Linked DNA regions of Homo sapiens: all the other regions are linked to region 1. The links are contacts of gene promoters, found by promoter capture Hi-C in blood cells and fetal thymus (Javierre and others, 2016). All regions are on one chromosome and are shown on one strand. Each heading gives the region's core, a stretch centred on a gene start or on the middle of the fragment in contact. The rest is flanking DNA. Distances are from core to core; before and after follow the strand shown.

Evidence for each region. Contacts are between HindIII fragments. The CHiCAGO score rates a contact against its expected background, and 5 or more counts as called.
Region 2: a contact is called between a fragment that was not itself captured here and the fragment with the promoter of NBEAL1 in region 1, in 1 of 17 cell types (total B cells). The highest score is 5.8, in total B cells.
Region 3: a contact is called between a fragment that was not itself captured here and the fragment with the promoter of NBEAL1 in region 1, in 3 of 17 cell types (neutrophils, endothelial precursors and monocytes). The highest score is 6.8, in neutrophils.
Region 4: a fragment that was not itself captured here is called in contact with the fragment with the promoter of NBEAL1 in region 1 in 1 of 17 cell types (neutrophils); the score reaches 6.0 in neutrophils.

Annotation. Positions count from the first base shown.
Region 1 is chr2:203,012,359-203,019,643 of GRCh38, reverse strand. NBEAL1 (neurobeachin like 1) reads right to left here and starts at 4,769. Exons shown (of 56, transcript NM_001378026.1): 1 at 4,662-4,769; 2 at 3,209-3,488. The coding sequence starts at 3,259. RefSeq lists silencers at 1,084-1,378, 4,668-4,897 and an enhancer at 4,536-5,089. The HindIII fragment of the contact is 7,356 bases long and covers 1,880-7,285 here.
Region 2 is chr2:202,557,395-202,564,679 of GRCh38, reverse strand. It overlaps BMPR2 (bone morphogenetic protein receptor type 2), which reads right to left. Exons shown (of 13, transcript NM_001204.7): 13 at 1-4,984. The coding sequence ends at 4,734. Among named protein-coding and RNA genes, the nearest start is that of FAM117B, 74 kb to the left of the region's middle. The HindIII fragment of the contact is 429 bases long and covers 3,772-4,200 here.
Region 3 is chr2:202,587,377-202,594,661 of GRCh38, reverse strand. No RefSeq gene overlaps it. Among named protein-coding and RNA genes, the nearest start is that of FAM117B, 44 kb to the left of the region's middle. The HindIII fragment of the contact is 2,502 bases long and covers 3,422-5,923 here.
Region 4 is chr2:202,603,086-202,610,370 of GRCh38, reverse strand. No RefSeq gene overlaps it. Among named protein-coding and RNA genes, the nearest start is that of FAM117B, 28 kb to the left of the region's middle. RefSeq lists an enhancer at 426-665. The HindIII fragment of the contact is 8,722 bases long and covers 1-7,285 here.

The DNA of each region.
Region 1 (7,285 bases), core at 3,520-6,019:
TGGAATATCTGTGCCAAGGTTAGCACTGTGGCAAATACGGAGGAGGTCTTAACCTTACTGCCCGGAAGCAGTCCTTCATAAATCTTCCAAGGTGTCTTCTTTAATCAGGTATGTATACAATGTTTTGTGTAGACATCAAACCAAGCAGGGCAACAAAACAGCAGACACTTTAATCATTAAAGATGGACTTTATACTCAAGAAAAACAATTGATCATCTTGGGAGGATGCTAGTAAATTAAGTCATTGTGAAAACTGACAAAGAGAATCAAACATATATGCCACCTGCCTTCCCTTTAAGGAACTGTAATCAAATGCTGATAGAGACAGTTCTCAATATAAATTATACAGTTTTGCAAAATCCTAATAAAATAACACATATAGGCAAAAATCACAGATGGCCGCTACACTAATAAATTATTCTAGCCCTTCACACCCAAAACAACCCAAATCAATCAGGCCTCTGTTCGGTCAGTTTCCAGATACCAGAAGAGAGGAACAATTAAATAAAATCAAGGGAATTCAATGAGCAAAACGTTCAAACTGTAGAAAACTCTAAGGTCAAAATCTGGTTTCTTCAACACATAAACAGCAAAGAATAAAAATATGGTGAAGGGGAGCCTATACATGAAAATGTTTAGCAGATATTTTCAACAAAATACATGTATACTTTGTTTTAAATACTGAGCCAAACAGTGGGAAAATACGAATATTAAGAAACTAGGAGGAAAGTAAGAACATTGATCACATATTTGATAATTTTAAAAATTGTGTCATGATTGTTTTTAAGAGGAGTTATTACACATATTTAAATATTTACAGATAAGATCATAAATTGTCTGGGATTTGCTTTAAAATAATTAGGAGATAGGGCAAATTGACAGTTATACATAAACTGTGACTGAACATGAGCTGGTAATAGTCAAAATTGGGTGACAGACACAAAAGAGTTCACTATAACATCTCTACTTGGTGCATGCTTGAGAATTTCCACAATAAAAGTTTTAAAAAGAAAGAACTAAAAAGTTCTACATAACCATCTACAGAATAAGAACAACAACAACAAAAAAAACTGCTTGTCCCTCAGAGGTAAAAACAAACAAAAACCTGAATACTGAGTTAGATAAGCATTCTCCCTGTATATACATACATGCACACATGCTTACTCAACAAATGAGAAAAACTGAGACCCAAAGAGTAAGTCTTGTTCAAGGTTACAAAACAAAGCAGCAGCAGAGCCAAAACTAAACTACGATTTCAAGCTCACAAAGAGGTCTAAGAAGCTTTTGAAACTAAGTGGTAGAAAATATTTTCATAAGAAGATCTGAGTCCTCAAGTGGTCTGAAAGCTCATTAAAAGTGTGAAAAAAAAAAGCCTTAAAAGTTTGTCAGCTGGGAAAAAAAAAAAGTCAGCTGGTTTGAGAGGCTAAATGCTAGAGTGAGAATAATAAGGCAAAAAGTATAGAGAACAACTGGGTACAGTATTTGGTAGTCATCCTCATTAGAAAGAAGACTTAAATCTATGAGGTATATTTGGTAGCTACCTGATTCAAGGTGTCTGCAGAAGAGAATGTTGTCTACCTTACAAAAAGCTTATCCGTTAACTGGTAAAATATAAAATCACGGTTTTAAATAAATATTCTTTGAAAACAAGTGAAAAAATTTTAAATCGTATTAAGCACACAAATTATTTAAATATTAAACCTAAAAATGAGATTTATATTCCTGTCCAAGAAGAGATAGGCTTCAAAATCTGACAGTGAGGGGCCTTCATTATTGAGGATTAACATTTCAAAGGAGAAGGGATGCATGTTTATATTAAAAGCCATTAAGAATAAAATTCAGTGTATGCCAATGAACTATACTATCTGTTTAATAAGCTTTAATATTAAATTTAATAGTAAATATACCTAAAAAGAATGTAACTTATTAATGAGACACGTAACCCCATTCACCAATATCATTTTGAAAACAGTAAAACCTAGTAAGTTTGATGTATTTTTAAATAAATCATTTTCAAACTACTAGGTATTCATACTAAAAATTAATTTTAATTTTTGGTTAACGTGTTAGTGACTATTTTCAAAAGTGGTGAATTGGATTCCTTTTTTATTGGAAGCGTCTATTTTTAAAAAGACATTTCTGGTATTAAATTATGCAAGACTAAAAGCTATTTTAAAAATTCATATTAAGCATTTCAAAGTGTATGTCCTTTAGCAATTATAATATATATCAAACCAGGAAGTCAAAGAAAATTCCAGTGTAATCTCTAAATTTAATATGACAGATAAATGAGACCACTGTTAAATAATAATCTGCCTTTTAAGGAGCATGAAAGGATAATGCAGAAACAGAAGCTGTGACTTGAGAATTTCACCACACATACTTAAATTAACTCAAATAGTACATTAGGGGTGTTTCTCTGACCCTTGCCAGTATCTTCAAAGTAATAATGTACCTCCTCACTTGAAAAACATGTTTTTAAGGAGTACTCTTCTCAATAACCTAAAATCAAAGCTATCAAGTAAAAATTCACATAAAGACAAGGAGGGGAAAGAACATTATTTCTGAGTGACAAAAATATTAAGGAGTAAAAATGGATAAAAGTACGCACTTGAGTCAGGTAGTACTGTGTTTCTCGGCTACTCAGTACTCCTGTAACCCTTGCATCAGTTTTCCCATCAGTAAAAGGGGATGATCACAATATTCACCTCACAGTATTGTAGTGAGAAGGAAATGAGACAATGCTCAAAGAGTGCTAACTTAGTGGCAGTCACACAGCACGCAGTTCAATCAATAACCTTGTGATGCAATTTCAAAGGTTCATTCCAAGAAAAATGCTTAATGCCCTTCTCATAAAAATGTCTCTATCCTACACTCACTTGTGGGAGAAAATGAAAAGCACAAACAAAAATAAAAATATTTTATTTTTCTCTTAAGGGCATAATTTTACTTATATAATTTTAGGATCATTTGGGGATAAGTATCAAATAAAAGCCGCACCCTACAGTTTTTAACAGTATGCCAATATTGTATGTGTGTTCAAACCTGAAAAAGAGGAAAACAGAAAATCCTTTAAACGCTTTTAAGTTTGGGGTTATTCATTATGACTAAATACACTATTATCTATTAAATAAAGTGTTACTACTGCCAGTCACAAATTTTATAATAAAGTATTTTAAAACATAAAAATAAAAAGGAAAGCAATTACCTTTGTACAATAAAGCATCCAAAGTTCAAAGAGCCTCTCTCTGGATGCCATTCTGGCTTTCACTCTGGCACTTTAAGTTTTCCTTAAAAAAATTATGTTCAAGACTACAGCATGTCCATTTTATTTTCCAAGTTTTTCAGCCGTTCAGTAAAGCTCATAGCAGTAAAGAAAGCAAAAAGAAGTGAAACAAATGGACTGTCCTCTGGTTAAAAACAAAAAGGCAATTTCAGCAGTCACTCCAATATATCTTCATCAGTGGTAGTTGGGCAATTAAATAAATCTGTGAAAGAGAAAAACATCCACAGGTTAGAAAAAGAGGCCATACTAAAAAATCTAGACTTATCAAAAACTAAAGATGTATCTTCTTCACTTCCCACAAACAACCCGCTATACTTTCACATGGACTGATTAGATTTCATAGAAACTTGTGTTTCAGGAAAACATCACAGCTAACACAGTATGTCCACCATAGAATCCTCTAGGGCAGACAGACTCCTAGAGATGGGTACATGTTCATAACCAAGAATGCGTCCAGTGAGAATAAGGAGCAAGACTCCCTTCCCACTCATACCTTTTGTACAGATACAAGGAAAAGGCCCACATCTCAGACATTTCAAATACATCAAAGCTCTTAGAATGTTCTTGTTCTGGTCTCCTCTTCAAAGTTGTTGGGGCCAGGCGCGGTGGCTCACGCCTGTAATCCCAGCACTTTGGGAGGCCCAAGTGCGTGAATCACCTGAGGTCAGGAGTTCGAGACCAGCCTGGCCAACACAGTGAACCCCTGTCTCTACTAAAGAAATACAAAAAATTAGCCGGGCGTGGTGGCGGGCACCTGTAATCCCAGCTACTCAGGAGGCTGAGGCAGGAGAATTGCTTGAACCCGGGAGGCAGAGGCTGCAGTGAGCCCAGATCACGCCACTGCACTCCAGTCTGGGCGACAGAGCAAGACTCCGTCTGGGGTGGGGTGGGGGTGGAGTAGTTGGGACTGTTTGCTGTGTTGCAGGGCAGGGCGTGGGGGCGGGGGAGGAATTCCCAGTTCGTTTGTTCTAACAATCCTCGGAGAGTGGAAGTCCACCCGCCCACCTGGCCTCTCCACCTTTCCATCCAAGAGAAGTGGGCACGCACACACCGGCGAGGAACTTCCCAAAGAAGCATCCAAGTGTTTGGGGGAATCTTTTAATTTCCTCCTCACATCCCAAGACAACCCAAACAGAGGCAAACTTAAGGTGTGCCGAGCTGCCAAGAGAAGCTCTAGAACTGAGGAATGCGGACTCGGCGTCTCCCGACCGCGATCCCAGCCTGCACTACAGTATCGGAACACTCCCTGACAGCCTAGCCCACTCAAAGCCGCCCCTCACTCTGCAGCCCCTCCACCACCAAGCACCGGGGCCCTCCCATTTCTTGCCATGCCGCCCCCTCTTCCCAACGGCCCGCTCCCCATCACCGGGCTCACATTGTGTGCCGCGCGGCAGCCGCCGCCCGGCAGCCGTCTAACTGCTTCCCTCGACCCCTTCCCAAGGCGAAGCCCCGTGTCACCCCGCAGCCAGGCAGACGAGCGGGCGGGACATGGGGGCGGGGCGAGAGGCCGGGAGGAGCAGGGGGCGGGGCTGCCCCCTGGGCTAATCATTTCGGCCGCTGAGGATTTACCCAGCCGTTGGGCGGCAGCTGTTCAATGGTCGCGTAGGCTGGGGATGGGCGGGGTGACCTGAAGCCCCGCCCCAGCATACCTGCGCAGCCGCAGTCGACAGGCTCTGGCTGCCCATCCCTTGGCGGGCGCCGGCCGCGGCACTGAAACGAGCCTTCCCTCAGCTGGACATGGAGGAGGGCTGACGTGCTGACGTCTACGCCCGCCCCGCTTTTCGCTGATGGCGTCATTTCCGTGAGTCATCTGAGGGCGTGAGACCCTACGGTGTTAAAGGGGATTTTGTTTCACTTATTTGTAGAACCGGGATTGGTTCTGGGAATTTAGAGTAATGTAAAAAGACAAAACACACACAGACACCCCCCAAAAACTCCTCTTTTCCTTTTGTGCCTGCTTTCGTCGTCACCGAGTGTCATATCCAAAGGGCTTATTTTACCACCACTAAAGACTTCGAAAGGGTTTTTCTTTTTCAGAAAAGAAGCAAAAGGCTTTACTAACTATAGACAACTTTCAGAGAGATTTGGTTTTTGTATAAGGAAAGAAAAACGCGTAAGATAACTCACCTTTGTTAAACATTTCCACAACTTTTTATTGTGAAAGATTTCAAGTATATTCTAAAGTAAACTAGTATAACGAAACCCTGTATACCGTCACCCAACTTCAAAAATGATCAACTAATGTCCCATCTTGTTTCATTTGTAACAAGGATCCACAAATTGCCTGTGAAGAGCCAGAGACGAGGCGCAGTGGCTATCGCCTGTAATTCCAGAATTTTGGGAGGTCTAGGCGGGCGAATCCCTTGAACCCAGGAGATCAGCCTGGGCAACAGAATGAGACCCTGTCTCTGCAAAAGAAATTTTAATTAGCTTGGCGTGGTGGTGCACGCCTGTAGTTCCAGCTACTTAGAAGCTAAGGTGGGAGAATCGCTTGAACCTGGGAGTGAAGGTTGCAGTGAGCTCCGATGGCGCCACTGTACTCCAGCCTGGGCGACAGAGCGAGACACTGTCTCAAAAAATAAAAATAAAATAAAAAGAGCCAGACAATAAATGTTATAGGCTTTGCAGTCCATTCTGGTTGCAACTTGCTTAACGAAAATCAAAAGAACAATATTTTGAGATGTGAAAATTAGACGAAATTCAAATTCAAGTTTCAGTGTCCTAAAATTTTAGTGGAACACAACCATGCCCATTCCTTTAGTATTGCCTATAGCTGCTTTCACTCTACCATGGCAGAATTGAGAGTAGTTGCTTGCAAATTACACCTTCAATTTTTTATCCTGAAATTACATTTTACATTCAGCATTTCTCCTTGGTTGTCCATTAGGCATGTGAAATTTATATGTCAAAATTTTGGGGGGAAAATATGCTTTTCCTTTGGGATACCCTATTTTAGTACTTAGCAACTCTATTCTTGTACTTGCTCAGTACAAGAACCTAGGAAGTGTGCTTGCTGTCTTCCTCATGTACTTCACTTCCAATCTAATCTTTTCAGCTATATCTCCAAAATATACCTAACCATCTCTCCACACTTTCTTCCTTAAATGGATGGTGGTATAGTAGTAGTAACCACTATCTTTATTTCTTTTCCCTTTTTTTTTTTTAAATTAGAGGCAGGGGCTTCGTATGTCGCCCAGGCTGGTCTCGAACTCCTTGGCTCAAGGGAGCCTCCTGCCTCGGCCTTCTGAAGTGCTGGGACTCCAGGCGTCAGCCATTGCACCTAGCCGTGGCTACTGTCTTTAAAATGGTTTAAGTTATACAAAATACTTTCTAGTTTATTGTAATAGCCTTCCAACTTGTTTCCCTGACTCTGCCCGTGACTCTACCCCAAATCCGTGGATTATTCTCAACATAGCAAACACAGAGATCTTTTAACATGGAAGTAAGATGTCACTTCTCTGCTAAAAAGCCTCCAATGGCTTCCCATTCCACTTTAAAAGGCCTGCAAGGACCTACTTCATTTTCCTCCAACATTTTCCTCTCTGACTTCTCTAACTATTCTGGCCTTTCTTACCTTACTTGAGACATGACTTCTTTGCTGCTTTTCAAAGGCACAAAGCACACTCCAGCCTCAGGGATTTTCACATGCTAACCCTTCTACCTGGACATCTCTTTCCCCAGATGTCTGCACAAAATCTTTTTCTTTTTTTTTTTTGTTTTGAGACAGAGTCTCACTCTGTCACCTAGGCTGGAGTGCAGTGGTGTGATCTCGGCTCACTGCAACCTCCACCTCCCAGGTTCAAGCAATTCTCCTGCTTCAGCCTCCTGAGTAGCTGGGATTACAGGCGCCCACCACCACGCCTGGCTAATTTTTGTATTTTTAGTAGAGATGGGGTTTCACCATGTTGGCCAGGCTGGTCTCAAACTCCTGACCTCAGGTGATCTACCAGCCTTGGCCTCCCAAAGTGCTGGGATTACAGGTGTGAGCCACTGTGCCCG
Region 2 (7,285 bases), core at 2,737-5,236, 450 kb after region 1:
CTTGTAGAAAAGCCTTCTCTTGATAACAAATTTTATGTAACTAGCTCAAACAGTGATTTGCCAGATTTACTTAATCAAGGAATATATTTAGGAGGGAATCATGCAAGATAGTTTTGGGTAAAGTTTGCACAGTTCATAATCTAAAAGTTAAAATGCAACCTTATATGCTGGAGAGTAAACTGCCAGTAACAGTACATTTAGAAACATTGCATTCTGAAAAAGTCTCCTGGGGTTTATGTGGGAGTGTTACAATTTCCAGAATGACTGGTCTAGATAATCAACATGTGTGTCCGGATTTTAACTTTAAGAAGTTAGATGGGAAGATAAAGCAATATATGAAGCAATCTGTGAATAGTTACATAATAACCTGCACATAACAGGTAGTAAGTTCAACATAACTTTATAAAATGTTGTATGGAAATATAATCTCAAATTCTAGGAGTTAATGATCTCCAATAAAATATTCATGTCCATAAATATGAAAAAAGGAAAAGCTCATTGAAATATTTTTCCATTTTAAATGACTTTCAGGAGGCACTTACAAAGACTAGAAATTTCAGTGTAACAGCTACAGCCTACCAATTCCACTTGGCTGTAGAAGTCAAATTTGAAAATAATTTAAATAAAAATACTTGCCAATGTTTTGTGATAATTCCCACTGAAGCCCACACTTACTTGAGTGTTCCTTTCTCTCTTTAAATATTTTCACATTCAGAACCAATGCACATTTTCTGGAACAAGTGGATACATGTAAAGAAGCTATACTAAACTTTTATAAAAAGGACATTATATCCTTGTATCCTTCCTATATCCTACTCAATTAGTTCTATAGATTAGTAAATTTTCTAAAGTTATTAAAAGCAGAAGTTTTGAAGATGGATTCAAAGGATTGATGAGACTGAAATTCTTTGTTAATTCCCCCAAATCTGCTATGGAATCAATTTAGGGAAAGGTCTCTGTTCCCAAAGCTATCTTAACTTTTTCCGTAAAATTTACTTTACCATTAGTTCTGCAATGTAAGAAATGTTAGGAGTGAAGTGAAATGATTTTAAGATTCATGATGGAAGATACAGGATTGAGTTTTGTCTAGAATTAGTAATTATTTCTCAAGCAACAATCAGCATAGATATGTCTACATATCTCATATTTGCCTAACTTCCCAAATCATTAAGGTATGTGGTTTGGCTCATATACAAATGAAAATTGTGCCAGAGTATAGTGACTGAATTTTTATGTTTTTTTTTTGAGGCAGTCTTGCTCTGTCGCCTAGGCTGCAGTGCAGTGGCGCGATCTCAGCTCACTGCAACCTCCACCTCTCGGGTTCAAGAGATTCTCCTGCCTTAGCCTCCTGAGTAGCTGGGACTACAGGCGCCCACCACCACGCTCAGTTAATTTTTAAAAAATATTTTTAATAGAGACGGGGTTTCACCATCTTGGCCAGGCTGGTGTTGAACGTCTGACCTCATGATCCACCCGGCTCGGCCTCCCAAAGTGCGGGGATTATAGGCATAAGCCACTGCACCTGGCCTGAACTTTTTAAATAAACGTTAGCCCATTACACATCCTGTCATATGGCATGTAGGCAGTGTGGTATGGATGAAAGAGATGTGGAGAGAGGCAGACATAGACTGAAATCCCAGCTTTGTCTGTTACTAGATGTGGACCTTGGGCATATTACTTAGCTTCTCTTAGCTTCAGTTTCCTCATCTGTAAAATGGGAATATTAATTACAATGCTCATATGGTTGCTCTGAGGTTTAAGAGAAATAGCATATGTATACTTCAGCATTCAGTATGTGCCTTCTTGTAACTTCCTACACTGGTAACAGTGGGTTTTTTTTTTTGCCAATTATGCATTTAGAAAGTTTTAAGAATTTACAATTAAATCATTTTTGTCTAAACGTAATTCAAATCAAGTTCTTTCAGTGACCTAATTCTGGTATACAGTTAGGATTTTGTTAAGGGAACTAATATTAGACTTTACCTATTATGATGCTTTTAAGGTTACATTACCATCCAGTGAAATAAATTTTAATATTTTTAGTTGAATGATCTTTTATTCAAAAGGACCCCACTTTTCTACATATAAAACTTTGTGATAGCAGTTAAATGTCAACTTTAAGAAGCATTTATTATCAGATGAGTATTAGCATACAATTAAGTCATTTAAAATAATTTTGCTTGCTTGTATATTACAGATTTTAAAAGTCTGATGTACAATTTAAAATTTATAAAAATGATATATACTTTCCACCTTTCCTACTTTTTCAGGAGTTTACTAAGAAAAACTGGTGAAAGGAAATTATTTGTTTTAAACATGCTTGAATGAAATAGTAAACTATTCAGTTATTTTAATCTGGCATATTAATTTTTAAAGCATTTTATCATAATTTTCCCAATATTAAAAAATGTTGGACAACCTACAATCAACTGGCCCAAATACAAATATAGCAGAACGTAAGATAACTCTTCTGGCAGGAAAAGATCAGTTAGACCTCAAATGGTCATTTATCCTCAATGCTTCAAATTGGAGAAGGAACATAATTTATTTTGATTCAAAGTTGTCCTACAAATATTTGAAAAGAATATCCTAAAATGCATGTGAAAGATATTTAAGGGCAAGAGAACTAAGTGAAAATGTACTAGGAAAGATAAAAATAATTTGTTAATAGAAGAATAATAACTGTGAAAAAAATTACGTGCCAGAAGACTGAAAATAGATTAAGGGGCTGAATAAAGAAAAGGGCCAATAAAACACAAAACGTGGAAATCCTGGGCACTAACAAGATATTCTTAATTCTATGAATCCAGAACTGTGTTCAGCAATCCAGCTGAATAAATGGTAGGTATAGTAACATCTAACTTGTAAGATCACAGCACATGGCAAATGAGAAGGCTTATATACAAGTAAATCACAAATATTTTGGACAGAAAATTGGGAAATTTAGGCTGTCTTTAGCTAAGTGATAAGATAGAGGAATATGAGTGAGAAAATATTGTTCAGGAGATAAAAACATAAATCAGAAATTTGGTGATTTGTGTTTTCCTCTTAACCTTTTAATCCCTGGAACTATCTTAGAACTAAACTATATAACATTTACTAAGTACTCTGATAATCGAAAAAAAAGTAAAAAAAAGTGAAATCATCAGTTTGCAAATTAATAGAAAATAATTTCTGTTTAGAAAAAAGTCCATTATTTGACAGAAAGTGCTTTATTTAAAAAAAACATGCAGAGGTTGTTTTAGAGGAGATTATAAGTAATGAAAGAAGCAAAGGGCTTTTAAAAATAATATGATTTCAAGTCATTTTATTACTAAAAGGTATACTCTAATGTAAATAATAAATGTTGCTCACATATCAAAGATAATGTGAAAAACTGGCAAAAGGAAAAATTATGAAAATAGGATTAAGGAAGATAACACAATTTTGAAAAGAGAGAAGTTTAGTCTCAGTTTGCTCAAAAAAGGTAGGTTTGATAGCAGCCCTTCCTTCATAGGGACTTGGCATGCCACTTGAATGATTTTTCCTCACAGTGTTTTAGGTCATGGGAAGAGGAATCATTTTCAGATAAAGTCACCAGTCTTTGCTTGGGAACAGGGTAAAAGATACTATAGGTTCAGAACTATAAATTACTTCTGAAGTTATAATAAACAGTAAGGGTAATTTTATGAGTCAAAGATGGCCTATTCAGAGAATGAAGGCTATAACACTATTTTGTCTTAACCATTTATTTACCTACTTAAAAATTCCATAAGTGTAGCTCTATAAGCTTACCAATAAAAATGTATTTCTTAAATAAATGAACATGGAACATGAACCTACATAGAAAAATAAAATAAAATGGGAAATGGCTAATATTTGATGTCCTGTATTTTGTTCTATTCTCTCTTATGAACTCCCAAAACCAGAAGCAAATAAGTTTATTAAGATGCCTTGAAGGAAACATTTAGGATTTGGAAGGTTAAAAGAAATGGCATTTCAAGTCAGGTTTTGGTAGTTCCTTCTTTAGAGCCCTTTCAGACAATGTTTCTGTATTCTCCATGATAAGGAGAGAGAAAGTAAGAAATCAGGTAGCTGCTTCTCCTGTGCAAAATTCACTGTCATAGAACTGACCTTCAAAAGTATGGGAGATGGGGCAGAAAAGTGTTTATATTATGGAAGAATATGTGCCCTGTTAGGAAGAGAGCTTACAAGAAAGCTTATTTGTGGCCTATAAACTATTGCACATTCAAACAAAACACAAGAGAAAAGATGTCCAACAAGATAATATGTTCAGGAACGTATCAACATAAAAACTAGCTTGTGCCCAGAAATAAAACATGGATACCAGACACCACTGCAGTCAAACCTGTCTTAATTTGCTTCTGTTTTAATGACCTTAAGAAACTGGTCCAAACTGATTATCAGCAATACATTGTTTTTGCTTTTTTTCTTAAAAAAATATTTTGAGACCACTTTTGATACACACACATATAACTCTGTGGTCATAACAGACAAATATAACTTTAGCGAGACTAAACAAAAGTGCAAAACTTAAAAAACAAAATTTAAAAATATGGAAGCATAAGCTAAATTTTTCTGCATAGCTGAAATCTATTTAAAGCAAGTCTTTGTTGCAGGGGTGGGAGGGGGTGCTGACAGGAGGATAAAGCAGTTTTTTTTTTATTTTTAAACATCTTCTGCATGTTTAAATGATGCAAAAAATAATTTCACTCCATAGGCTTGAAAACATTTCACAGACAGTTCATTCCTATATCTTTAGACACCATGGTTGTAGCAGTGCCTCCTTCTGCAAGGTAAACAGCAGTGCTGGATTTGGAATGAACTGCCCTGTTACTGCCATTATTGTTGACTTCACAGTCCAGCGATTCAGTGGAGATGACCCAGGTGGAGGGGCGCCACCGCTTAAGAGAATAGGGAGTTTTCACACGTTTCTTGATCTTTTCACCTGATCCTGATTTGCCATCTTGTGTTGACTCACCTACTGAAAATAAAAGTGCAGAAAAATGAGCTATTTAACAAACTTAAGAAATAACGGGTAAGGGATGTAACTCAAGAAAAGGTCAAACCAATGTCTCAGGAGGGTGCTAATGAACATTTCTTGAAATTCATAATGCCAGACAATGTTTTTCCAGGAAAAGCTTAACCAACTTATTTTTGAGACTCTTTAACCCAAATGTTTTAATAACTGATTGACTTATTTTATAAGGCAAGGGAAAACACACACACACAAAACACAGGAGAACATTTAAACTTCTCAGCTGTATTCTCAAATCTTCTGGTTTTGGTAGCGATCTTAACTTGGTAAAATGTACTTAATTATTGTATTTAATTGTATTTAATGCTCAAGGTGGATCAAATTTTTTTTTTTTTTTTGGGGGATGGAGTCTCACTCTGTAGCCCAGGCTGGAGTGCAGTGGCATGATCTTGACTCACTGCAACCTCTGTTTCCCGGGCTCAAGTGATTCTCACGCCTCAGCCTCTCAAGTAGCCGGGACTACAGGCGCATGCCACCATGACCAGCTAATTTTTTGTATTTTAGTAGAGACGGGGGGTTTCACCATCTTGCCGAGGGTGGTCTCAAACTCCTGAGCTCAGGCAATGTGCCCGACTCAGCCTCCCTAAGTGCTGGGATTACAGGTGTGAGCCACCATGCCCAGCCTGGATCAAATTTTAAAGGCACCTGGCATACAATATTTTTCAGAAGAATAACAGAAATATTAGAGTACAAACATTCTAATAATTTCCTCTTCCTATATCTGACAAGATTTTTTTTTTTTTTTTTTTGAGATGGAGTTTCATTCTTGTTGCCAGGCTGGAGTGCAATGACATGATCTCGGCTCACCGCAACCTCTGCCTCCCAGGTTCAAGCAAGTCACCTGCCTCAGCCTCCCAAGTATCTGGGATTACAGGCATGTGCCACCACGTCTGGCTACTTTTGTATTTTTAGTAGAGACCGGGTTTCTCCATGTTGGTCAGGTTGGTCTCGAACTCCCGACCTCAGGTGATCCGCCCGCCTCAGCCTCCCAAAGTGCTGGGATTACAGGCGTAAGCCACCATGCCTGGCCTATCTGACACGATGTCTTACTGACTCAGAGCCCTGCAATAAAGGTCTGTCAACTGATCTGTAATACAAGCCACTCAAGCAAGGGGCTAAATTTTCCTGATTGTGTTTTGAGACCTGTATCCTTCCTTCAAGCCCATTTTGTAGCCCTTGACAATAAAACATAACTTTTTTTCATAAATGCCTTAGTCTAAAAGAGAAATAGGCTGGGCGCAGTGGTTCACGCCTGTAATGCCAGCACTGTGGGACACTGAGGTGGGTGGATCACCTGAAGTCCAGTGTTCGAGACCAGCCTGGCCAACATGGCGAAACCCCTCCTTTACTAAAATACAATAATTAGCAGGGCATGGTGGCACATGTCTGTAATCCCAGCTACTCGGGAGGCTGAGGCAGGAGAATCACTTGAACCCGGGAGGCAGAGGTTGCAGACCACCACACCAAACTAAGTTTTAAATTTTTTGTAGAGATGGAGTTTTGCTATGTTGCCCAGGCTAGTCTTGAACTCCTGGCCTCAAGTGACCCACCCACCTCAGTCTTCCACAGCACTGGGATTACAGGCGTGAGCCACCGTGCCTAGCCTACAGTTTCTTTATAGTAATTTTCCCAAAATTTCTCTGGATCTTTAAGATTTATTAAGGTTAGTTTGATAAAACCTAAATGCAGACATAATCAATATTAATATATGCAATAAAATGTTTCAAAGATTATACTGGTATAACATTACTTGGAGCTCTTGAACTGTATTTACTTTATTTCAACTTTTCATAGCAAGTATGTGAGTTGCATTATAAAGCAGCAGCCACATAAAGCACATATTAAATTGGGTAATTATTCTGACTATTGTGACACTGACTTTTTAATTATCAATGACAAAAATATTACTTTTTTCTTTACAATAGTCTAATTACCTTTGAGGCCCAACCAAATGGCTTATTTATTTTTTTTCCTGAGATGGAGTTTCGCTCTTGCTGCCCAGGCTGGAGTACAATGGCGCAATCTCAGCTCACTGCAACCTCCGCCTCCTGGGTTAAGGCGATTCTCCTGCCTCAGCTTCCCAAGTAGCTGGGATTACAGGTGGGCACCACCACACCCAGCTAATTTGTGTGTGTGTGTGTGTGTGTGTGTGTGTGTGTGTGTGTGTGTGTGTGTGTTTGAGACAGAGTTTCATTCTGTCACCCAGGCTGGAGTGCAGTGGCATAGTCTCGGCTCATTGCAACCTCC
Region 3 (7,285 bases), core at 3,423-5,922, 420 kb after region 1:
GCTTTTTGAATTCTAGCCTGAATTTCACTCACATTTTGGTCCAGAAAAGGCAGTTTAACAGGATCAGTAGCATCAATAACCTTACCCAATATAAAATTGTAAGTTATCCATTGTATACTAAAGTTGAAAACACTAAAAGTCAAATTTGGGCCCCCATAATTTAGGTGAAGATAAATCAGATAAAGTTTAGCAATAAATGAGGAGAGCATTTCCAAATAAGATATCTAAGAAAGAGGCTAAAGGGATCGGGAGAAGGAGAAGGGGATTTTGTAGTTTAGAGAAGAACAAACTATAGGGAAGATTTTCATTAATTTTTTTTTTTTTTTTTCCTGAGACAGAGTCTCACTCTGTTGCCCTGGCTGGAGTGCAGTGGTGCAATCTTGGCTCACTGCAAGCTCTGCCTCCCAGATTCAAGCTATTCTCATGCCTCAGCCTCCCGAGTAGCTGGGATTACAGGCTTGCGTCACCACGCCTGGCTAATTTTTATATTTTTAGTAGAGACGGGGTTTCACCATGTTGGCCAGGCTGTCTCGAACTCCCGGCCTCAAGTGATCTACCCGCCTTGGCCTCCCAAAGTGCTGGGGTTACAGACTGAGCCACTGCACCCAGCCTCATTAACTTTGAAATAGATAAAAGGATATCATCTACTGCTTTCTTTGACAGGAGAGACTATAAGAATAAATAGCCCAGGGTTACTATTAGAAAAATTTTGGGTGAGAAACAGTACAAATAAATCTTTGTACAAATAAGACTGTGAAGGTGAAGGACACTGGGGTGAGTTTCTGAAGTTACTAGCACACAGCTCCGTACTTCTTGGCCTCAGTTAGCAGGGAGGCAGGGGCTTGATTTAGAGCGAATATTCCTGAATGCCTCTTCCCTTTGGTCCTAACATGCTAAAAGACTGACTTGAAACTCTTTTTGTTTAACCTTTCTTTACTCAAGCATGGCTTTCCTTTTCTACTTTTATTTCTCCTATCAAGTTAAAAGAAAAATGCATTAAAAAGAGAAGCCTCAGCCGGGAGCAGCGGCTCACGCCTGTAATCCCAGCACTTTGGGAGGCCAAGGTGGGCGGATCACAAGGTCAGGAGTTCAAGACCAGCCCGACCAACATGGTGAAACCCCGTCTCTACTAAAAATGCGAAAAGAAAATCAGCCGGGCGTGGTGGCGGCTGCCTGTAATCTCAGCTACTCGGGAGGCTGAGGCGGGAGAATTGCTTGAACGCTGGAGGCGGAGGCTGCAGTGAGCTGAGATAACGCCACTGCCCTCCACCCTGGGCGACAGTGTGAGAATCCATCTCAAAAAAAAAAAAAAAGAGAGAAGCTTCTATGCAGACAACCAAGCTGAGTGTATGATGATTCTGAGTACCCCATTTGCTTGGTGATGCTTATATAATGAAAGTTTATTTGGGGTTTAAGGTAAGCCAGTTTTGTTTAGTTTTGGGTAGTCATTTATCCCATGAATAAGTATTGGAACCTTATTTAGATACAGGTTTCAGTGAGAGATGTGGGCATGGAGAATGGAGAAATAAGGTAACCATGGACTTCCTATGGAAGAAGACAAAAGTGTGCACCACTGGAGAGGGCAGAAAAGCTGCCCTACGTCAGAGTCTTAGACAGGGATGGCTCACCTCTCAAGTTCCCCTCCTCTCAATTCCACAATGCCAAGCTTTTCCTCTAGGCTCTTATATTCACATTATGTCTGCGACGAAAGTTCTTACAGCAGGTACAAACCAAAGATTACAAAGATTAGGAAGGTAATATAAATGGGTAAATCTAGTTGGATTAAGACAACTGGAAGTTGCTGGGTTTGGGGAAGGTCCAGGTCCCACCTAAAAGGCATTCAGATAAAAACAAATGTTAAATACTCTGCAGGCCAAACAAAACACAGCTGGCTGGCTAAATTTAGCCCTATGCTCATCATGCTTTCCTCCTTTCTTAGAGAATAGAGCTTAAAGTATTCCTCTTGTATGCAGATATGTATATGATACAGAAAATCAGAAGTAATTGAGAGGGAGGACTAGATAGAGCATGGTTTACTGAAATTCTACATACCTTAGGAGAGACTATTTCCATAATTTTATTCAAACTGTGAATTGAAGAATCTTGGTTCTGGTTCCTTGTTTTATTTTCACTTTTTTTTTTTTTTCTGAGAGAGTCTCACTCTTGTCACCCAGGTTAGAGTGCAGTGGTGAGATCTCAGCTCACTGCAACCTCTGTCTCCCGGGTTCAAGAGATTTTCCTGCCTCAGCCACCTGAGTAGCTGGGATTACAGGTGTGCACCACCATGCCCAGCTAATTTTTTTGTATTTTTAATAGAGACGGGGTTTCACCATGTTGGGCAGGCTAGTCTCAAACTTCTGACTTCAAGTGATCCTCTCGCCTTGGCCTTCCAAAGTGCTGGGATTACAGGCATAAGCCACCGCACCGGGCCTGGTTTCTGGTTTTAATTCTTCAAATCTGCTTTGGGATGAGAAATATAAACTATTTCTGCGTAAATCCCTTTGAAAGGGTGGACTTCCTCCCCCCCATCACCCCAATAGGTTGAAATTTGATTGCTGAGTCAGATATAATCCATGATACTTTAGCACTCCCCAGATTATTTGGAGGTATTTTGATTTATCAGGATAGATACAGTCATGTCTCATTCTTTCCTTTTTTTTATTTTTTTTTTTTGAGATGGAATTTCGCTTTTGTTGCCCAGACTGGTATGTAATGGTGCAATCTCGGCTCACCACAACCTCCGCCTCCCAGGTTCAAGCGATTCTCCTGCCTCAGCCTCTCGGGCAGCTGGGATTACAGGCATGCACCACCATGCCCAGCTAATTTTGTATTTTTAGTAGAGATGGGGTTTCTCCATGTTGGTCAGGCTGGTCTTGAACTCCCGTCCCCAGGTCTGCCTGCCTCGGCCTCCCAAAGTGCTGGGATTACAGGTGTGAGCCACCGTGCCCAGCCTTTCCTCATTATTTCATGTTCATCTTTAGTAAAGCAGCTATCAGTAGCTTCACTTGCCACCTAAAACTTCCAATATACGTTCTTATAACTGGAGAACTTTCAGTCAGTTTATACATCTAGAGGAATCTTTTTTAATTTTTTATTTTTGAGACAGAGTCTCACTCTGTCACCCAGGCTGGGGTGCAGTGGTGCAATCTCAGCTCACTGCAAACTCTGCCTCCTGGGTTCAAGCATTTCTCCTGCCTCAGCCTCCTGAGTAGCAGGGACTACAGGCACATGCCACCACGTCCGGCTAATTTTTGTATTTCTAGTAGAGATGGGATTTCACCATGTTGGCCAGGATGGTCTTGATCTCCTGACCTTGTGATCCACCCACCTCAGCCTCCCAAAGTGCTGGGATTACAGGCATGAGCTAACATGCCCGGCCATCTAGAGGAATCCTAATGAAAAATTAAAGACTCAAAAAGCTTTATAGTAATAGGAAAATAGTACCTGTTTGTTTTTATTATGATAATATACAAAGAGACACTGAAGCCTCTTCAACAATTCTGAATGTAAGAAAGCAATTTTTAGGTAGAAAGTATCAGAGAAGAGAAAATAAGGAGAAAAAGTAATTAGAAATTGTTTCCTCAAAAAATTAAGTATCAGCTTGGCATTATGCTTATGCCTATAATCCCAGCACTTTGGGAAACTAAGGTGGGAGGATCACTTGAGGCCAGGGGTTCAAGACCATCCTGGGCAACATAGTAAGACCCCATCTCTTTAAAAAAAAAAAAAAAAAAGAGCCAGGCATGGTGGCATGTGTCTGTAGTCCTAGCTACTTGGGAGACAGAGGTGAGAGGATCACTTGAGCCCAGGAGTTTGAGGCTACTGTGAGCCCTGATCATGCCACCGCACTCCATCCTCGGCAACAGAGTGAGACTCTGTCTTTTAAAAAATAAATAGGCTGGGTGCAGTGGCTCACGCCTGTAATCCCAGCACTTTGGGAGGCAGAGGCAGGTGGATCACAAGGTCAGGAGCTGGAGACCATCCTGGCTAACACGGTGAAACCCCATCTCTACTAAAAATACAAAAAATTAGCCGGGCGTGGTGGCACACGCCTATAGTTCCAGCTACTCTGGAGGCTGAGGCAGGAGAATGGTGTGAACCCGGCAGGTGGAGCTTGCAGTGAGCCGAGATGGTGCCACTGCACTCCAGCCTGGGCGACAGAGTGAGACACTGTCTCAAATAAATAAATAAATAAATATCAAACTAGTCAGCTTCTTGTAGCAGAGAGCAGAGGGGAGGGTAGATCTGGAGAGGAAATATGAAATATCCAACAGCCATGAGTAGAAATTGATATGGGAAAGAGGAACAGGAAGATCAGTGATGGCTGACTAGAAACATTGGATGCCAGTTCTCCTCAGAGAGAAGAACCAAAGGTGAATAATCATGGCCCAAGTGGAATACTGATCGAAGAGTGACAGAACCCACAGGAAGAAGTTGGGGCACAGAAAAAAGAGGGAAGCAAGAGTTTGGCAGAGATAATACCCAAGGGACTTGCAGTCCTGTGGAAAGGGTAGGTGGGGATGTTTTTAGCTCATTTCACTCACCCTTGCTGCAGCAGACTGCTGGTTTCCAAACTGTTGAAGAGCCCCTCTACCCTCTTGAATTGGCACCAGTATGAGCAGTGATTTGAGAACTTCTTGCGGGCAGAGCACCAGGTTGCCAGCTCATGCAGGATTGCTCACCCTGCCCGTAGACCCGAGCTGAGGTGGTGGGTGCCATACTGGTTGTGCACCCATTGAGGGCCTCTGTCCTGCCCAAGGAGTCTCAGCCCTTGTGTTGCTGCATTACTGGATCCCCTGTAAACATTCCCTTGCACCTCCTCAGGCTGTAGCAACCACAAAGGGCCAGTGGGATCCAGGGGGAGCTGTGGCGTTGCTGGAGGTGTAACCCTCAGGGCAAACTGTCCATAGGGGAAGGGAGTGTACACCGTGCCAAAGCACCCCTTGGGACAAAGGAGACGAGAGTACAGGGTCTCCTGTGCCTGAGAGCTCCCTGCTTGCGCACTGAAGGTGACTGTGCCCCTTGCAGCAGAGGCAGGTGTGGTGCTGGAGGAGTGTGTTTCAACCCCAGTGGGCAGGCAGCATTGGTGCTCAAGAAGGGACACAGAGAGGGGGACTTCTCCCCTACAATCATTGCTGTGTACATAGCCAGGCTGTTCCTGTGGGGGGTTGGCACAGGTGTGCCTATGGATGGTCAATGCAGGGCTATTAGGGGTGGGTGCACCCCAACTGGCAGTGTTCCCACCACCCCAGGCCCGGCTTGCATGAAGAGTAGGGCCCCTCTCCCTCTCTACATGGAGCAACAGTTTTCCTGCAGTAGAGATCAACGAAGCCACAAAGTTGTCTGTGTTCAGCTGAGGGAAGAGGTTCCCACGGGAAGCCGTTTCAGTGGAGGGCTCTGGGACAGGCATTTCTGTGGCCCTCAGCTATATTGCAGCCTAGAGACAAACGACATTGCCTATTTCAGGGTCACAAAGCCTCGGGACAGGGGTGTGATTGGGAGGCAGATGGCATTCCTTCTTGGTCAGGACATAGAGCTGGTGCAGCCCTCTCTGCCTGTGATGGAAACCTCAGCGCTTTTCACCACAAGCCCCCGACCAGCCTCATCAGGGTTTGTGCTTCCACTGTCATTGGGGTATCCGAAGGTGAGCTTAGCAGTCCAGCTGCACCCAGCTTCGTCTTCCTTTCCTGGGGTAAGTAGAGAACTCAGGGCACCCAGCATTCCACAGATCAGTCCACCCACAGATCAGCCCACCGCCTGAGACAACAGACAGCCCCTCCCAGTAAACAAAGATTAAGCACGCACACACCCTGGGCATCTGGCTCTTACCCGTATTCGCCACCTGCTGGTCTAGAGACGGAACTGCACAACCCAATACAAAACCTTTTGACCGAAGTGCACAGCGCTATGAACCAGGTAAGCTTCCTGAGACCTCCACAGTCTCAGCTCTGCAGAAGGTAGTGAGCCTGCTAATATGCCCAGCACAGTGTTACTACAACCAGCACTTGAGAAAGCCACTGCACAAAGGCTAACTATAACCAAGGAATTCATACAGAACTTTGGCACCCTGACAGCACCCAGAATTGAAGCCAAACAACCATTCACAACATACATTACAGTCACACCCTTGAAGGGGATAATTCTTTTAAAAGTCCCATGCAATGAAAAGTAAATTCAAAAACAAGTAGTGAGAGATTCTCCAGATGAGAAAGAACCAATGTAAGAAGTCTGACAGTATGAGAAAACAGAGTATTTCAACAACCTAAAAAGATTACATTAGCTCTCCAGCAAAAGATACTAACCAAAATGAAAATTCTGAAATTACAGACAAAGAATTTTCAAAATATATATTGTAAGGAAGTTCAATGAGATCCAAGAAAAGGTGAAAAAAACAACATGAAAAAATTAGAGAAACAATACAGGATATGAATGAAAAATTTACAAAAAAGAAGAAAATTTACTAAAAAGATAGATATTTTAAAAAAACAGAACTTCTGCAAATGAAAAATGTATTATAGGAATTACAAAACACAGTTGAAAGACTTAGAAATAGACTAGACCAAGCAGAAGAAAGAAATTTAGCAGAAGAAGACAGGTCTTTTAATTTAACCCAGTCAGACAAAAATAAAGAAAAAAGAATTTTTAAAAATGAGCAAAGCCTTCAAGAAATATGGGAATATGTAAAGTGGCCAATCCTATAAATCATAGGTATTCCTAAGAGAGAATAAGAAAAAGTAAAAATCTTTTGTTTGTTTTTTTTTTTGAGATGGAGTCTCACTCTGTCACACAGGTTGGAGTGCAATGGCATAATCTCGGCTCACTGCAATCTCCACATCCTGGGTTCAAGCCATTCTCATACCTCAGCCTCCTAAATAGCTGGGATTATAGGCATGCACCACCACACCTGGCTAATTTTTGGATTTTTTTTTTGAGATGGAGTCTCACACTGTCGCCTGGGTTGCAGTGCAGTGGCCCAATCAGGGCTCACTGCAACCTCCACCTCCCAGGTTGAAGTGATTCTCCTGCCTTAGCCTCCCGAGTAGCTGGGACAACAGGCTCCCGCCACCAGCCTGGCTTTTTTTTTTTTTTTTTTTTTTTTTTTGTATTTTTAGTAGAGACGGAGGTTCACTATGTTGGCCAGGCTGGTCTCAAATGCCTGACCTTGTATCCACCTGCCTTGGCCTCCCAAAGTGCTGGGATAACAGCCGTGAGCCACTGCGCCTGGCCAATGTGTGTACACCCACCATCACATTAGAACTAACATCCCGCTAGAATATTACGATTA
Region 4 (7,285 bases), core at 2,141-4,640, 410 kb after region 1:
TACTCTGAAGATATAGTTGAATTTTGCTTGAAGAAATGTAGTTAAATGCTGCATATTGGCAAATGTACAGCCCAAACATTGGTTTATAGTCCACAAAATTTGATCTTCTACTATTTGCAAGATACTGTGTTCTTTACAGATGTTCTACTATTGTCAATAAATATTTGTGAGTGAATGGTTTTAAGAGCACTAATGTTACCAAAGATTACTGCTATCTTTTCTCAATATCACTTAGCCAGGCCCAGAATACACAATGAATTCAAAGGGCAGAGTGCCATGTCACTCCTTCCTGTTACACACAGTGGGGTGTAGCTTTGCCCTCACTTATATAGTCCTTGGTCAGTTGACAAAACTAACTGAGCCACGGTACCAAGCAGAATGACTTAGGCAGCCAACATATGAAAAAACTTAACCACTTACCCCTCCCATGTAGTGAAAAGATACTTGACTCCTCCCATGTAGCGAAAACACAGGCCTGCCCAGACTTGGTATTTAGAAAACTAAAATAAGACTCTTTGTTTGACTCAGCTCCTAAGTAGTCATTACATATGGGGCACAAAGACCTCTTCTTGAAGATCTCTCTAGGAGAAAAGAGCTGCAGTGGACTAGTGGCTCCCTGACCTATGAATAAGGACAATCATCTATTATGTTACTGGTTTTTTGTGTTTTCTTTAAAGCACAGTCCTTTCAAAATCTCTACTAACTTGATTTTAAGTACGTACAGTTCTGAGGGAGAGTTGCAGCATAGATTACTTCTCAATATATGCATGGTCTAGTAATAGTGAGGATGAAAAGAGGAAACCAAAAGGGAAGTTAAATTCATGCACAATGTATAAGTTACTAATAAAATGGCAATCCCATACTCTCTTGTCCACAACCCAAGAGGGTCTACACTAACCAGAGTCTTGGTTTCCTTTCCTTTCCCTCCCTTCTGACATGATTTTCCTTCAAGGACTTCTGATTGGAAAATAACCTCAACCCAAACTTCCCCTTCTTATTCTGGCAATTAGAGTTACTATCCTGGTAGGACTTCAGGTTCTTAGAAATAGGATGATAATAATCATTTTATTGATAGTTAACATTTATTGAGCAATCACTATGTCTGAGGCACTGGGCTGCACACTTTACACACTATATACCACATTTGTACCTTATAGCAACTTCATACACAGTTACTATTATCCCCCTCTTTTTTTTTTGAGACAGAGTCTCACTCTGTTGCCAGGCTGGAGTGCAGTGGCACGATCTTGGCTCACTGCAACCTCCGCCTCCCGGGTTCAAGCAATTCTCCTGCCTCAGCCTCCTGAGTAACTGGGATTACAGGCGCATGCCACCACGCCCAGCTAATTTTTATATTTTTAGTAGAGATGGGGTTTCACTATGTTGGTCAGGCTGGTCTCAGACTCCTGACTTCGTGATCTGCCCACCTAGGCCTCCCAAAGTGCTGAAACTACAGGTGTGAGTGACCGCGTCCAGCCTATTATCCCCATTTTTATGGATAAGGAAAAGAAAGGATAGAATGGTAAGTGGATTGTCCAGGAGTGTATGGTAAATGCTAGAGGCAGGATGGAATCCCAGGGAGTCTGAGTCTAGAGGTCATACTCTCAACAACTGCACTAGGGTAGTTTTCTTTCCTTGCTCTTTGACTTCAGAGACGCAATCTAGTACGATGTTAAGTTTGGAGCCAGAGTGCCTGGATTCAAACTGCAGTTCCTCTTTTACAGCTGCATGATCTAGAGCAAGTTATCTAACTTCCCCTCATGGTTCTAAGTCATCCCACTGGGTGCCATGACTCTGATTAACTCCATCCAGGTTTGATCATTGCAATTAATTTCTAAATATTTCTGGAAATACTATGTATTATGTTAATATGTATTTGTTTTTATAGTACTTAATGTTTCTGAGCATTCTCTATTCTCACAGCAATTTTTCAGTCTTCAATCCCTGAGATCATGGTTTCTCTTCCTTTTCAACCTTTCCTTCATGCTAAGGTAAGTGCTTTGTAAATGTTGAGTGACTGATGGCATGAAACAGTCATTGCAAGAAAGGTCTGTTAGAGGCAAAGTAATGTGACACTGGGCCTTGCCTTACTTTAAGTCCAGGTAACAAATAACTATGCATTCTGCAGCTTTGCAGATCAGGGTAATCTTCAGAATAAGTCAAGCCTTTGCTTCTGACAGAGCATCCTTTCAATGGCAGCCAGAAAACTGATCTCTTGATTCTCCATCCCTGGGTGTGTAGGCATGTAGACAGAAGAAAGCAAGGGATAGGCTGCCATGACATGTCTATGAGACTTTGCCAAGACACTGCAAAGCCAGTAACCCCCACAATGAGGAGAGGAGTTAGGCTGCAATTAACTCCTTGTCATCTGCTATAGCAAAGTCAGCAACATGGCAGCTTTCCCCTTCCTTTACCGAGAGAACACATTCTTCCTTCCAGATATCTCCTTGGATCTCTGATCCTGAGGACATCCTATGACCCCCCTCCTAATTCCAAAAGAAGCAAAAGGCCGGGCGTGGTGACTCATGCCTGTAATCCCAACACTTTGGGAGGCTGAGGTGGGCAGATCACAAGGTCAGGAGTTTGAGACCAGCCTGGCCAATATGGTGAAACCCCGTCTCTACTAAAAATACAAAAATTAGCTGGGCATGGTGGTGGGTGCCTGTAATCCCAGCCACTTGGGAGGCTGAGGCAGGAGAATTACTTGAACCCAGGAGGCAGAGGTTGCAGTGAGCCAAGATTGTGCCACTGCATTCCAGCCTGGGCAACAGAGCAAGACTCCATCTTAAAAAAAAAAAGAAGCAAAAGAAAATCAGATCCCTTCTCTCACCACTCCTATTCAACATAGTGTTGGAAGTTCTGGCCAGGGCAATTAGGCAGGAGAAAGAAATAAAGGGTATTCAGTTAGGAAAAGAGGAAGTCAAATTGTCCCTGTTTACAGATGACATGATTGTATATCTAGAAAACCCCATTGTCTCAGCCCAAAATCTCCTTAAGCTGATAAGCAACTTCAGCAAAGTCTCAGGATACAAAATAAATGTACAAAAATCACAAGCATTCTTACACACCAATAACAGACAAACAGAGAGCCAAATCATGAGTGAACTCCCATTCACAATTGCTTCAAAGAGAATAAAATACCTAGGAATCCAACTTACAAGGGACATGAAGGACCTCTTCAAGGAGAACTACAAACCACTGCTCAAGGAAATAAAAGAGGATACAAACAAATGGAAGAACATTCCATGCTCCTGGGTAGGAAGAATCAATATCATGAAAATGGCCATACTGCCCAAGGTAATTTATAGATTCAATGCCATCCCCATCAAGCTACCAATGACTTTCTTCACAGAATTGGAAAAAACTACTTTAAAGTTCATATGGAACCAAAAAGGAGCCCGCATCGCCAAGTCAATCCTAAGCCAAAAGAACAAAGCTGGAGGCATCACGCTACCTGACTTCAAACTATACTACAAGGCTACAGTAACTAAAACAGCATGGTACTGGTACCAAAACAGAGATATAGATCAATGGAACAGAACAGAGCCCTCAGAAATAACGCCGCGTATCTACAACTATCTGATCTTTGATCTGATCTGAGAAAAACAAGCAATGGGGAAAGGATTCCCTATTTAATAAATGGTGCTGGGAAAACTGGCTAGCCATATGTAGAAAGCTGAAACTGGATCCCTTCCTTACACCTTATACAAAAATTAATTCAAGATGGATTAAAGACTTAAACGTTAGACCTAAAACCATAAAAACCCTAGAAGAAAACCTAGGCATTACCATTCAGGACATAGGCATGGGCAAGGACTTCATGTCTAAAACACCAAAAGCAATGGCAACAAAAGCCAAAATTGACAAATGGGATCTAATTAAACTAAAGAGCTTCTGCACAGCAAAAGAACCTACCATCAGAGTGAACAGGCAACCTACAAAATGGGAGAAAATTTTCGCAACCTACTCATCTGACAAAGGGCTAATATCCAGAATCTACAATGAACTCAAACAAATTTACAAGAAAAAAACAAACAACCCCATCAAAAAGTGGGCGAAGGACATGAACAGACACTTCTCAAAAGAAGACATTTATGCAGCCAAAAAACACATGAAAAAATGCTCACCATCACTGGCCATCAGAGAAATGCAAATCAAAACCACAATGAGATACCATCTCACACCAGTTAGAATGGCCATCATTAAAAAGTCAGGAAACAACAGGTGCTAGAGAGGATGTGGAGAAATAGGAACACTTTTACACTGTTGGTGGGACTGTAAACTAGTTCAACCCTTGTGGAAGTCAGTGTGGCGATTCCTCGGGGATCTAGAACTAGAAATACCATTTGACCCAGCCATCCCATTACTGGGTATATACCCAAAGGACTATAAATCATGCTGCTATAAAGACACATGCACACGTATGTTTATTGCGGCACTATTCACAATAGCAAAGACTTGGAACCAACCCAAATGTTGAACAATGATAGACTGGATTAAGAAAATGTGGCACATATACACCATGGAATACAATGCAGCCATAAAAAATGATGAGTTCATGTCCTTTGTAGGGACATGGATGAAATTGGAAATCATCATTCTCAGTAAACTATCGCAAGAACAAAAAGCCAAACACCGCATAGTCTCACTCATAGGTGGGAATTGAACAATGAGAACACATGGACACAGGAAGGGGAACATCACATTCTGGGGACTGTTGTGGGGTGCGGGGAGGGGGGAGGGATAGCATTAGGAGATATACCTAATGCTAAATGACGAGTTAATGGGTGCAGCACACCAGCATGGCACATGTATACATATGTAACTAACCTGCACATTGTGCACATGTACCCTAAAACTTAAAGTATAATAATAATAAAATAAAATAAAATTAAAATTAAAAAAAAAAAATCAGATCCATAGTTGGTATCCAACTCTGTATGAGTGAGACATAGAGGGGAGGAGGTCTAGAGATTTGCGAAGTAACACTTGAAAGGGATCCAGCAGAAAATCTGAGTCATAGATCACCTTTAATCATTGTGCCAATTACTTCTTTGGTAGAATGACAAATGGAAAACAATCATTGAAACCATTGAAATAAGAACTAAATCATTCCAATTATAGCAAACAGAGCAGAGAAGGCCTGTTAACATTCACAGGAAAAGGTAGGGGTGATCAAATTCCATGAGGCTTAGGTATGGCTTTTACTTGGAAGGTAGAAAAAAATTAAATCCTTCATAATTCAGAAGGTAGAATCATAGGATTTTAGAGCCGAAAACATTTTTGAACTCATGTAATCCAAGTCTCATATTTTACAAATTAGGCAACTGAGGCCCAGGGAGGGAAAGTCACTTTCTAGAGACCACAGGAATGATAACAGAGCCAGGTCAGAGCTCTGGTCTCCTGCCTTTCTAATACATCCACTGACGAGAAAAGATGCCTATATCTGGGAAAGGCTCTCACGTTCAACTAAGGCCCAGGAAACATGAGTAAACCTGATAACTTGGTAGAAAGAGGAAGTTATCATACCTCCATTCCCTGTATACTGGGTCACAACACAACTGTCCCTGTTTTTCTCAAATTTTTCAGGTTCTCTGATTTGCATGTTGATCTCATGTTCAAGTGGGACAAAAAAAGCATGCGAAAAGAGAGAGAAAGAAAAAATGTAGCATAACGTAAAGCAGAAGCAACCTTCTTCACGGCTTAGCGGTGTTTAGTAGCAAACTAGGAATCAAGAGGACCTGGATTCTCCTGGCTCTAGCTCTGCCGCTTTGACAAGTCATTTAACATCTTTGTGCCTCAGTTTTCCTATCTGCAAAATGAAACCACTGTATAGTAAATGATTTCTAAGGTCTCTTTCATCACTAATATTTTAGAATAATATTAGAGCAATATTCAATCCTCATGATACTAATATAATTTTACCATATCCTAGATTAGAAAGATATATATAAAATAAGGGTGACGAGCAAATAGTTGATTGTGAATTCAATCGAACAAATATTTATTGTTCTTTGTTTGTTTTGAGATGGAGTCTCACTCTGTCGCCCAGGCTGCGGTGCAGTGGCATGATCTCGGCTCACTGCAACCTCTGCCTCCCGGGTTCAGGCGATTCTCCTGTTTCAGCCTCTTGAGTAGCTGGGACTACAGGCGTGTGCCACCGTCATTGCCTCAAATTTGATCCTGGGTCAAAGCAAAATGCCAGGAATCTGGAGTGCATCCTCATTGCTTTGCTATGAACATGGACATATCCGCGTGAGCATTTCTGTTAATTTGGGAAACCAAGGGCAAGAAGTGGCGTATGAAGTATGTGCTATATAATATGCAAAAAAAGAAAATGAAAGGATGAAATACTAGTATATAATTAAGAGACTCAATTGCAAAAACTCTTAACCTGAACACAAATTCTGAAAGTTAACTTTGTTCTAATATATTTCACCATTACTCTTCACCTTCATGTTACTAACAAACTTCCTGAAAGTTTTCTTCATCCTCTAATTCCACTCAACAAAATAACCTTTATTTTCTGGCTTTTCTAACTTACTTTTCAAACAACCAAGTTTCTCAAAGATTGCCTAACAAACAGCCCACTGACCTGTTCCTTCTGCCTCTCTTTGAAACCTGTATCACTGTTGCGCATCCATTCTTCCTTGAAATTTTGTCTTTTATCTCTTGTGGAGCATTTCCAGCACTATCCTAGTTCTCCTCCTGCCTTTTGCCTTTCTCTCATTTCTACTGTGTATTTTTTTTTTTTTTTTTTTTTTTTTGACACGGAGTCTCACTCTCTGTCGCCCAGGCTGGAGTGCAGTGGCGCGATCTCGGCTCACTGCAAGCTCTGCCTCCTGGGTTCACGCCATTCTCCTGCCTCAGCCTCCGGAGTAGCTGGGACTACAGGCGCCCGCCACCACACCCAGCTAATTTTTTTTGTATTTTTAGTAGAGACGGGGTTTCACCATGTTAGCCAGGATGGTCGTGATCTCCTGACCTCGCGATCCGCCCTCCTCGCCCTCCCAAAGTGCTGGTATTAGAGGCGTGTGCCACTGCGCTCGGCCCTACTGTGTATACTTTTTTGTTTATTTGAGACACAGTCTTGCTCGGTCCCCTAGGCTGGAGTGCAGTGGTGTGATCTCGGCTTACTGCAACCCCTGCCTCCTGGGTTCAAGTGATTCTCCTGCCTCAGTCTCCAGAGTAGCTGGTATTACAGGCTCGTGCCACCACGCCTGGATAATTTTTGTATATTTACTAGAGACGAGGTTTCACCATGTTGGCGAGGCTGGTCTATAAC